Linked DNA regions of Homo sapiens: regions 1 and 3 are each linked to region 2. The links are contacts of gene promoters, found by promoter capture Hi-C in blood cells and fetal thymus (Javierre and others, 2016). All regions are on one chromosome and are shown on one strand. The core of a region is centred on a gene start or on the middle of the fragment in contact, and the rest is flanking DNA. Distances in the headings are between cores, read along the strand shown.

What was found. The method cuts DNA at HindIII sites, captures the fragments that hold promoters and counts their contacts. A CHiCAGO score of 5 or more calls a contact.
Region 1: a contact is called between a fragment that was not itself captured here and the fragment with the promoter of CPSF4L in region 2, in 1 of 17 cell types (fetal thymus). The highest score is 5.7, in fetal thymus.
Region 3: a fragment that was not itself captured here is called in contact with the fragment with the promoter of CPSF4L in region 2 in 1 of 17 cell types (total B cells); the score reaches 6.8 in total B cells.

Annotation. Positions count from the first base shown.
Region 1 is chr17:72,706,735-72,710,620 of GRCh38, forward strand. All of the region lies in intron 7 of SLC39A11 (solute carrier family 39 member 11), which reads right to left. Among named protein-coding and RNA genes, the nearest start is that of LINC00511, 68 kb to the left of the region's middle. The HindIII fragment of the contact is 4,413 bases long and covers 1-3,886 here.
Region 2 is chr17:73,259,729-73,263,446 of GRCh38, forward strand. CPSF4L (cleavage and polyadenylation specific factor 4 like) reads right to left here and starts at 2,152. Exons shown (of 6, transcript NM_001129885.1): 1 at 1,988-2,152; 2 at 1,205-1,255. The coding sequence starts at 2,090. The HindIII fragment of the contact is 15,055 bases long and covers 1-3,718 here.
Region 3 is chr17:74,173,353-74,177,006 of GRCh38, forward strand. No RefSeq gene overlaps it. Among named protein-coding and RNA genes, the nearest start is that of RPL38, 28 kb to the right of the region's middle. The HindIII fragment of the contact is 2,587 bases long and covers 785-3,371 here.

The DNA of each region.
Region 1 (3,886 bases), core at 751-3,250, 550 kb before region 2:
GGTCTGGCCAGAGTAGGGAAGAGGATCTGCCTTCCCAGGGAGTGCTCCCTATGGAAGAGTGGTTCTCATCCTGTCTGCCCAACAGCTACCTGAAGAGCCTGGGCCCCAGCCCAACACAATTCAAACAGAATCACTGAGTAACAGGGCCCAGGCATCAGTATTTGAAAGTTCTCCACTTGATTCCAACGTGTAGTCAAGGTTTAGAACCACTGCTCTAGGGCCGGGCTCTATCCAATATGGTAGCCATGGGTTATGTGTGGCCGTTGAGCACCTGAAATATGGTGAATCCAAATTGAGATGTGCTGTAAATGTAAATATACAGTGGATTTTTGAGAGTTAGTATGAAAAAGAGAATGTAAACTATCTCATTAGCAATTTTGCTAGGCCGGGCATCATGGCTCATGTGTGTAATCCCAGCATTTTGGGAGGCTGAAGCAGGAGGACTGCTTGAGCCCTGGAGTTAGAGACCAGCCTGGGCAACATAGGAAGACCCCCATTGCTACAAAAAATGTTTCTTTAAGTAGCTGGGTGTAGGGGTCCACACCTGTAATCCCAGCTACTTTGGAGGCTGAAGTGAGAGGATCATATGAGCCCAGGAGTTGGCAGTTGCAGTGAGCTATGAGCATGCCACTGTACTCTACCCTGGATGACAGAGCAAGACAGAAAGAGACCCCGAATGACAGATGTCTCAAAAACAACAAAGAAAATAAGTTTTGCTATATTGATTACAACTGACACAATGTGGACCTGTCCCAAGTGAGAATATGTATACATGTATAGGCAGGGAGACACTGGTGGTACTGCAGGGCAGACAGGAAAGCAAATAAAGATCACTTAAGGAGGAGAAATATTGAAGAACTCCTGTGTCATCAAGCAACTATGAACACATCATCATCTCCACATTTACGAGTTGCACAAAGTCCCGATCATTCCCTCTGGCACCCCTACATCCACATGGGTACACATCCTTGTTCTGTTATATTAAGTCAGGGTTCATCTTGTTTCCACCAAAGAGAAAACGGTTAGGAAGGCAAAGCGTACGGCATGGAATAATAATTGCCAAGCAAAAGCCAAAGTTCAGCCTTGAAGCCTCTTTTTATCCATTCTTCTCAAGCATGGCAAAAATATCCTCAAAGGACAACCAGTTTAAACGATAAGGGTTTTATCAGTAAGAGGCAAGTCAATAGAATTTAAAGATAAACACATAATCAATTCTAATTTCTGCAGAACAATAACTACACTATAATAATTTTGTACCAGACATGGTAGTCAATCTGCTTGCCAAGTCCATTGTACAGAACCAGACTGCTCCACTCCAGTTCCGAGGTTCTCCTGGACTCTGGACATTGGCCACTTGCCCTGTATCCTGCTTGAGCAGCCCCAGCAATTCTCATGTGTGATGGTTAATTTTATGTGTCAACTTGACTGGGCCAGGAGGTGCCCAGATATTTGGTCACACATTCTGGGTGTTTTTGTGAGGGCTTTTGGATGAGATAAGCATTTTAATTGGTACAGTAGGCCAGACTGCCCTCCTGAATCTAAGTGGGCCTCATCCAAGTAAGTTGAAGGCTTGAATAGAACAAAAAGACTGATCCACCACCAAGTAGGAAAAGGAAAAATACTCTCCAGCAGACTGCCTTTGAACTAGAACCACACCATCAACTCTCCTGGGTCTTGAATCTGCCAGCCCACTGTGTGAATTTGGACTTGCTGGCTCCCATAATCACATGAGCAAATTCTTCGTAACAAATCTCTTTCTATATATACACATCCTATTGGTTCTGTCTCTCCAGAGAACCTTGACTGGTACATCATGTCATTCTTGCCTACAGCCTGTTACCTCATCTCCTAATATCGGGGATGGTCTCAGGGACCCCCAAGTTCAGGAAGACCCATGGCCACAGCATTGCTTCTCCATTCTTCTACAATCTCTCTGCCCTTTCCAAGGAGAGTTCACTCAGCAGTTCCATTCAGTCTCCTTGAAGATATTCTTCCCAACCCATGACTGAGCATCAAGATTGACTTGTTTTGAGAAGCTGTAGCTAGCTCAATGATAAGCCTTGGATTTGCTTTCTTGCCTTCCTGTGTTGTTCACTTCCTTTTCACTTTTGCTTCTGCGGCAGCACACTGCTCACAACTCATAACGCATGAACTTTGCCTTTGGCTCTGTTTTCTGAGAAACCTAGGCAAAGCCTTTTTTCTTTTCTTTTTTTTTTTTTGAGACGGAGTCTCGCGCTGTTGCCCAGGCTGGAGTGCAGTGACGCGATCTCGGCTCACTACAAGCTCTGCCTCCCAGGTTCATGCCATTCTCCTGCCTCAGCCTCCTGAGCAGCTGGGACTACAGGCGCCTGCCACCACACCCAGCTAATTTTTGTTGTATTTTTTAGTAGAGACAGGGTTTCACCATCTTAGCCAGGATCGTCTCAATCTTCTGACCTCGTGATCCATCTACCTCGGCCTCCCAAAGTGCTGGGATTACAGGCGTGAGCCACCGCGCCCGGCCAAGCCTTTTTCTTTTTAAACTCACTTGCCTGATGAGGAAATAGCTGAGTGCTTTTTTATTGTGGAGACAGGGTCTCATTATGTTGCTCAGGCTCCAGTGATCCTCCCACCTCAGCCTCCCAAAGTGCTGGGAATACAAGTGCATGTCCCCATGCCTGGCTTGAGCTCTTTCTTGATAGGTGTGCTCACCAATTGGCCCAGGTGTGGACACCTGCCTCAAGAGATCTGATGTATAGGCTGCTCTTTCACCTATTGCTTGAGGGTTTCTCCTTGAACAGAGATGAGCTGAGCCAAATATCTTCCTTCTCACTTAATTAAAACTTGATAAAGAAAAAGGTATTCAATGGACAATGGCTGTTGGGCAAAGAAATGATGAAGGAAGTTTGTGTGTGTGCACGTAAGTGTATGAGAGAGACAGGGAGAGAGAGAGAACTTTCCAGGTTCAATTTCAGTTCATGAAGCTGAAGATTTTCTTGCCCCTATTTCCTGTATCCTTTCAGTGAATGTCCCTTTTCACTTCTAATTGCTGATCAACCTGAACTTAACTCTTTTATAAGTAACCTGCTTTTCCTATCTGGATGGTTTTGTGATATTTTATGTATCTGCAACTCAAAAGTTTTCCCAGGATATGTCACATTGCAATTTTCTTTTCATTAAATTCAACTAAAATGTGGTTGATTTCTTTTGAGCTGCATCCTCAGATTATTTTCCCCTCAGGTTCCAGAGGTTTTATTTTCAATTATAATTTTGATTGTTGCTCCTGTTCAAATTGATCTGGTTGCTCTTTGAGGAACATGCAGAAGTCTCTGGGTCATCTGTTCTGCCAACCACACCTATTGCTTCCCCTGTCTCTCTTAATTTCCCTCTTCGTCCTTTGCTTACAGGGAGAATATATCATTTTTCTTTCATACAGCCAGCATGCTTTTCTACAATGCCAGTGCTGTTCTTATCTCCTGCCAGTGACTTTCTACTCTGGCACCATGATTTCAGTTCCCCTGTGGTTCTCATTTTTTAAATCCACCCACCTTTGTTTTCACCTTGATTTGTTTTCTTTGAATCACATCCTGTTATTCTTTCATCTCTGCTTTGGCTTGAATGTGTATGTCCCTCCAAAATTCATATGTTGAAACCAAAGACCCAGTGCAGTAGTATTAAGAGGTGGGGCTTTTGGGGAAGTGATTAAGTCATGAGGGCTCCACCCTCAAGCATGAGATTAGTGCTCTTATAAAAGAGGTTGAAGGGAACACCCAAGTCTTTTTTGCCCTCTTGCCATATGAGGACACAACAAGGTGCCATTTGTGGAGCAGAGAGCAAGCCCTTCACCAGACACAGAATCTTCTGGTGCCTTGATCTTGGACTTTACAGCCTCTAGAACTGTGAGAAA
Region 2 (3,718 bases), core at 902-3,401:
CCCAAGACAAACAAGGCAGGTGGGCGAACATGGCCCCAGGTCCTCCTTTCCTGGTCCCCTCCAGCCCCCCAGCTTCCAGGGACAGACTCATTTGGATCAGAAAACATGTCCTAAACTCTCACACCAGTGAGATTTCTTAACCTAAATGTATAGGCAAGCGGGAGGAAGACAGGGAAACCCTAAAACTGGAAGCCAGTTTTTTTTGGCAATTGTATATTTCTGTTGAAAGAGCCTCTACATGAGCCATGAGCCAGAAGAAAAGTTGAAAACTCTTATATTTGAATCAGGCCTTCCCAGAATGGCTGCATTTGGGGAGAGGGGCCTAGGAAGACAGTATTGACCCAAAGTCAGGGCAGGAGAGAAGTGGAGGATGCTTTTTGATAGCATTTCAAAGATGGTGGCAGGTGCTACCTCAGGGCATAGGGAATGGATGAGACAATTGACCAGTTTACAAACTGAGTCAGAGCAGGGGACTGGGGGAGAAGGATGCCTCTCTTCTAGCTGGGAGGAAATCAAGAAAAACATTAAGAAGCTGGAGCCTCCTGGGAATGCACAGGCCAAAGCTCAGACACACGCCCATCCCAGCAAGGCAGAAAGAAAAAAATACCCCTTTCCAGGCAGCCTGGTTACCCTGATGCGAACTGCAAACTATGAAGACTGCTGCTGAGGCGGGAAAATCTTAGGGGAGGGGCAGGCTGCTCGGTGGATCCAACCACTTATCCTTTGTCTACCTGTAAGTCTAAAATTCTGCTCCATGGCCGGGCATGGTGGCTCACGCCTGTAATCCCAGCACTTTGGGAGGCCCAGGCAGGTGGATCACCTGAGGTGAGGAGTTTGAGACCCGCCTGGCCAACATGACAAAACTCCATCTCTACTAAAAATGCAAAAATTAGCCGGGCTTGGTGGCATGCACCTGTAGTTCCAGTTACTCGGGAGGCTGAGGAAGGAGAATCGCTTGAACCCAGGAGGCAGAGGTTGCAGTGAGTTGAGATCACGCCAGATCACTCTAGCCTGGGCAACAGAGCGAGATTCCATCTAAAAATAAATAAATAAAATAAAAATAAAATTCCGTTCCATCCCAATTTTCCCTCCCCAGGTGCAAATTCGACACCCTATCCCAGGCCAGGCAGAGCCCCTGCTGGGTGTAGCTCAGACAGACCCTACACTCACCCAGCTTGGGGCCCAGGCCTGTCTGCTAACTCACCTTTCTCACAGAGCCCTTTAGTGAAGAAGTTGCACACAGCTGAGGCCGACTCTGGAAGGAGAAGAGGGAACGGAGAAGGTAGCTTCCCCAGAGGCTGCAGCTGTTCCGGAAGCCTCCACCTCCATCGGCATGTCCCACCTAGACCTCCCCCAGGCTCTGGCCTATGGGATCCCAAATCTGGGCCCTGTAGAGGTTAACCTGCAGAGCCAGCCAGCAGACCTCAACCCTTAACCCCCCAACTCTGAAACAGAGGAGCTCGAGGGGCTCAAGCCTGGCCCAGGAGCTCGGGAGGCCAGTGTGGCTTCTCTCAATTCACCGTCTCTCTGTGCCTCTCTTTCTCAGTCTGGAAAATGGGTTGCCCCGAAGCCACAGAAGAGAGAGACAGAGAAGGGGCGGTCGCATCAGGGAGTTGAGCAGAGAGGCCTGTAGAGAAGGAAGGGGGAGGGAGGCTGGGCGTGGTGGCTCATGCCTGTAATCCCAGCACTTTGGGAGGCCAAGGCGGGCGGATCACGAGGTCAGGAGATTGAGACCATCCTGGCTAACATGGTGAAACCCGGTCTCTACTAAAAATACAAAAAATCAGCTGGGCGTGGTGGCGGGCGCCTGTAGTCCCAGCTCCTCGGGAGGCTGAGGCAGGAGAATGGCGTGAACCCAGGAGGCAGAGCTTGCAATGAGCCGAGATTGTGCCACTACACTCCAGCCTGGGCTACAGAGCGAGACTCCGTCTCAAAGAAAAAAAAACAGAGAAGGTAGGGGAGGGAAAGTGGCCCCACCCTCACTCACTGTCCATGCCCTGGAAAGGCAGGAGCCCAGTGCCCTTCTGCATCTCGACATCCTTCTCGAAGGCAAAGGTGAACCGCTCTAGCCCCGCAATGACCTCTTGCATCTTCCGTCTCCTGCTGGGGCTGCGGAAGCTGCTGGAACCCAGGCAGGTGGGCCCAATATAGCTCATCAGAGGCCCTTAAGGGGCCAGCGCCCAATGCCTCCCCCTTCACCCCAGGGTGCCAGTGGCCAGGTGACTGCAGGGGACGCTCCAGCCTGGGCTGTACAGGAGCAGGGCCCAGCTGCCTCACCCGGCCCACCCAGTGCAGGGGCAGACACCCCAGGGCCCCTCACCCCCACACTGTGTACACAAGGCTCACTCGGATAGGGAGGGATTCGCAGAGCCCCACAAACTGCTTATCTTTGCATGTTACCGAACACAAACGTGGCGTGCACACAGACATTACCAAACCTGGGCTCATACTTTGTCCATGAAGACACAGCCACAGGTTAGCAAAGAGTTGCACAAACCAACCGCAGCAAGGCTGTTATTCTGCCAGAGCTGGGGGTGGTGGGGGTTTGCAGAGGGAGGGAGCCGTCCCACCTCCCCGCTTCTTCCCATGAGGGAAGGGGTCTCCCTCTGGGGCCCCTGACACCCCTTTTCTGGCCTGAGTGACAAGCCCCGAGTGAGCTCTTCGTGGGAGACAGGGAAAAAGGAATGAAGAGGAGAGGAACTGAAACAGTTGGATGAATGGCGCTTTGTTTACCTCGCACACAATCGCCAGCTTGGCGGGAGGGCGGAACCGACCAAGGCCAGGGCGGCCTCCCAGCCAGGATTCCACAGGGCCACCCAGTGCCACCCCACCCCTGAGAAAGTGCTTTATAAATGAAATCTCTATGCAAATGTTGTTTTATTATTATTACACCACCCCTGCCTGCAGGGCTGGGGACATCTGACAATGCTTTCAAAGGAGCATGTTAGGGCTCTAATTAGACCAGGTTCCCCCTCCCCCTGCTCTGGCCCCAAACTGGCCTTGCCTCTAACTAGAGCTGCTGTTCTCAGTCACATTGGCTTTTAATGCCCATAGAACCAGAACCCATACGCCCTCCTTTCTGGGTGCCCAAACCCAGCAGGGAGAGGTGGGCAGCCCCGCAGGCTCTCAGCTGGGCCAACATGAACTAGCCTGCTGGCTGTTGTTCCCCGTGGCTGTTGCTCCTAGATCTGTTCTTTTGAACTCCAGATCAGAAAAGAAAATAGCTGGAGAGATAGACACCTGGAGCCGAGGTGGGACTGGGAGGAGCAGGGACGAGATCCAAGAGTTTCCAGAAGCTCAGGCCTCTGACTGCATCCTGGGAGAGGCAGAGGGACCCAGCTCCAGGGCTAGAGGGTGGGGCCAAGGGGGTCCCTGGGGTAGAAACCCTGGCTTCTCTTGGCCTTAGTTGTATGCGTTGATTAGTAGTCCCAAGAATGCATTCATCTGTCAACACAGGCTCATTAAAGGCTCACAGAAGCCTGGCAGCGCAGGCAGGACTGATGAGGGAATCAAAGCCCAGGGAGGCCAAGACCACATGGTTTGGGAGGCGCTATGGATGGGGTTCACATCTAGGTCTCTTGATGACTTCCTTCCCTAAACATCCCTGAGCATCTCTGCACTAGGGCCACGTCCCTATCCTCAGAGATGGCCCCATCAAGGAGGGGACATTAGCCATTCACACAATAATGCGATGGAGGCATGAGGGGCCCAGCAGGGC
Region 3 (3,654 bases), core at 828-3,327, 910 kb after region 2:
ATGGTGTTCAGTACATGTAGATGGATGCTGAGTAGCCAAAGGGGTGGAGGACTGTGTCAGCTGTCAAGCTATCATCTCTCAACTCCGAGCTCACCCTTCTATTTATTTATTTATTCATTCATTTATTTTTATTTTTATTTTTATTTTTTTTTTGTTTTGTTTTGAGATGGAGTCTTGCTCTGTCACCCAGGCTGGAGTGCAGTGGCGCAGTCTCAGACACTGCAACCTCTGCTTCCCAGGTTCAAGTGATTCTCCTGCCTCAGCCTCCAGAGTGCCTGGAACCACAGGTGCCTGCCACCACACCTGGCTAATTTTTGTATTTTTAGTAGAGGTGGGGTTTTGCCATGTTGGCCAGGCTAGTTTCAAACTCATGACCTCAGGTGATCTGCCTGCCTCAGCCTCCCAAAATGTTGGGATTACGGGCATGAGTCACCACGCCCAGCCCGAGCTCACTCTTCTAAACTCTACGTTTTGGTGCTAAGATTGGGGCTCTGCACATAACATCTCTCCTTCGTCAACTGGCTCCTTGTTGGGTTCTGCCTGTAGGAGGACTAGAGAGAAACCAAAGGCTGGAGGAGAGAAAAGAGGCATATGCTCTTTCTGCTGGCTTATTCTTCTTGTCCCTGTCTCTCCAGCAACAGATCTCCCCCCGAGCAGCAGCAGTGCATTCCAGTAGCCAGTTTTTACTGCACAATCTCATCATGCTCCTTCAGAGATAGCAGCACCAGTCAGCCAGGCTGCAGCGTCTGAGGTCTAAACCCAGCTCCATGGGGCCTCTTCTTCAAGCTTGTAGAGTCAGATAACCACGACATCTCCCTTTTGTTCTGCCCATCCTAGGGATGATGGCTTCTTTCTCTAGTTCCTCTAACCATGCTACTTCAATGTTCTCTTTGGGCTTTTTCAGTCCTCCAATACCTGTTTAGCCAATTCTCTATATTAAATTCTCTGTTAAGATAACTGGTGTGGTTTCTATTTTCCTGACTGAACTCTGACTAATACAAGCAGGCAACTGTAATTTTTTATTATAAGCCTCCTATACAATTGGAATTTGTTTAAATTCTGCATGTATACTACTTTTTGTTACTTTTTTCCAATTCTGCAATGTAATTGCAAGGAGAGTGCAGTTACAGAGTACTGCCAGACCATTTAGAAGAAGAAACTCCTCGGCCAGGCGTGGTGGCTCATACCTGTAATCCCAGCACTTTGGGAGGCCAAGGCGGGCAGATCATGAGGTCAGGAGATCGAGACCATCCTGGCTAACACAGTGAAACCCCATCTCTACTAAAAAAATACCAAAAAAAATCATCTGGGCGTGGTGGCGGGCACCTGTAGTCCCAGCTACTCGGGAGGCTGAAGCAGAAGAATGGCGTGAACACAGGAGGCGGAGCTTGCAGTGAGCCGAGATCACGCCACTGCACTCCAGCCTGAGCGATAGAGCGAGACTCTGTCTCAGAAAAAAAAAAAAAAGAAGAAGAAGAAGAAGAAGAGCCTCCTCTACACTGGGTTGGTCATGGAAGACTTCCTGGAGGAAGTGACATCTAAACAAAATTTGAAAAACTCATTGAAATTAACCAGGCAAAGAGTGTGAGATAGTAAGCCAGGCATAGGGAATAAATAGCAAGTACAAAGGGAAGGAGGTAATAAGGCCTCATTAAGTTCAAGGAAGAGTCCGGCTGGAGCATTGCCAGTGTCAAGACGGGAGGCTGGGGAGGAGAGAGGTGATTGGATCAGAAAGGACCTCTGCAACCTTAGAGAGGAGTTGGGACATTTTCCCAGGGACTGTGAAGATCTTAGAGAGTTTCAACAGGGAAGAGGCATGACTGTATGGCCGGCAGCAGACACCCAACATCCTTGTGCCCACCTTGAGCACGCTGGCCCTTGCTCTCGGCCAAGTCACATCATCTCCAGCACTTGCCCAAACTCCACATCTCCCCCGTCTTCCCAGGCAGGCGCCTCCTCAGAACACATCTGTACTGAGTTTCCCCCTCAGAAACCTTGTTAGGACACTAGTTAGTGTGATAAACTAATTCACGGTGAAGTGTTAGCAAATGAAAATGGTTTATCGCTCCTCGGGGTATTTTCATTTTAAGGAGACTCCGTTGACAAATATTTACTGAATGGTCTATTACATGCAAGAAACTATGTAAAACTCCTAGGGGGAGTCACGGCTTGACCTAAATAAATCAGTCTCTAATGATAGAATCCTAGGCTCACCGGGAAGCATTGCAGGCAGCACACAGCCTTTCTTATCTCTGCTTAAACCACATTAGCCTCTCTCTTGATCTGCCCTCCATCCCGACCCCCACTCCTCCCCTCCAATGGGGCTGAGCAGAGGCCGTGGCCCCCGATGTTTAACTGTGACTTCCCTGAGTGGTGTTGACATTGCTGGGACTGTATTGGGGGCTCAACAGTCAATCTTCGCCCCATGTTTTGGAATCCCCAGGTCTGCCCCATGGGAAGCCAGAAGGAACTGTACTGAGGGAGCTCCATCTCCCGTCCTTGGCCACGCTCTGCCCCCACCTCCACCCAGACACACTTACGGAGGGCCTCCTGCACACCTGGCCCTGTGCCAGGAATAAGGGCCAGGGAGCAGGGGGCAAGGATGGGGAACAGCACAGAAGTCCCACACCTGCACTTCATTTCAGCACGAGATGGATTCTCCCTTGAATAGTGGAGCCTCAGGCCGGGCACTGTGGCTCATGCCTGTAATCCCAGCACTTTGGGAGGCTGAGGTTGGTGGATCACCTGAGGTCAGGAGTTTGAGACCAGCCTGGCCAACATGGTGAAACCCTGTCTCTACTAAAAATACAAAAAAAAAAAAATTAGCTGGATATGGTGGCGGGCACCTGTAATCCCAGCTACTCGGGAGGCTGAAGCAGGAGAATCACTTGAACCTGGAGGCAGAGGTTGCAGTGAGCCAAGATCGTGTCATGGCACTCCAGCCTGGGCAATAAGCGATACTCTGTCTAAAAAAAAAAAAAAAAAAGTGGAGCCTCCTCACCTGGTTGATTCTCCTCCTCTCTTTCTGTGTGTGTGTCTCTCTCTCTGCCTTCTGAGATACCAAACTAAAACAGAAAGGAGGATGAGAGGCAGGAAGGAAGGATGAATGCCGGAATGGGATGAACAGTGCTTTTCCAGCTGCTGGTCCCCCAAGTCCTCTCTCTCACCCCCTCTCTCATTGTCAGGCTCCACTCCTCCCAAGCTGGATTCCCCAGAACCACCCTCATCCCCTCCGGCCCCTCCCCACTTACCTGTTTGCAACGCCCTTCTTGGACAGCACAGGTGAGACATCCCGAATAAAGACACTGAACAAGGAAGTGGAAGCCGGAACCCTGGCGCTTTCGTCAGATTCACTGCATAGTGTCTAGAGAAGCTTACCTGTGCCTTAGCTAAGTTCCCAGGACTCACTATTCCCATCTATAAGATGGGCACAGCCCAGGCCCTGTTATCCCCCTAGGACCATCTAGACCTTCCCTCTCCGCCAGCCCTTCCCAGGCTCCCCCTTCCATCCATTAAGAAACACTGGCATCTAGTGGTTGTGTGAGGGACCTGCAGCGCAGACCCGGCTTCCAAGAACAGGGCCCATAGATGGAGAAGCCTCTGACAGCCCTATCTAGAAACAAGGAGCCCCGTATTCCATACTGCCCTCTGCAG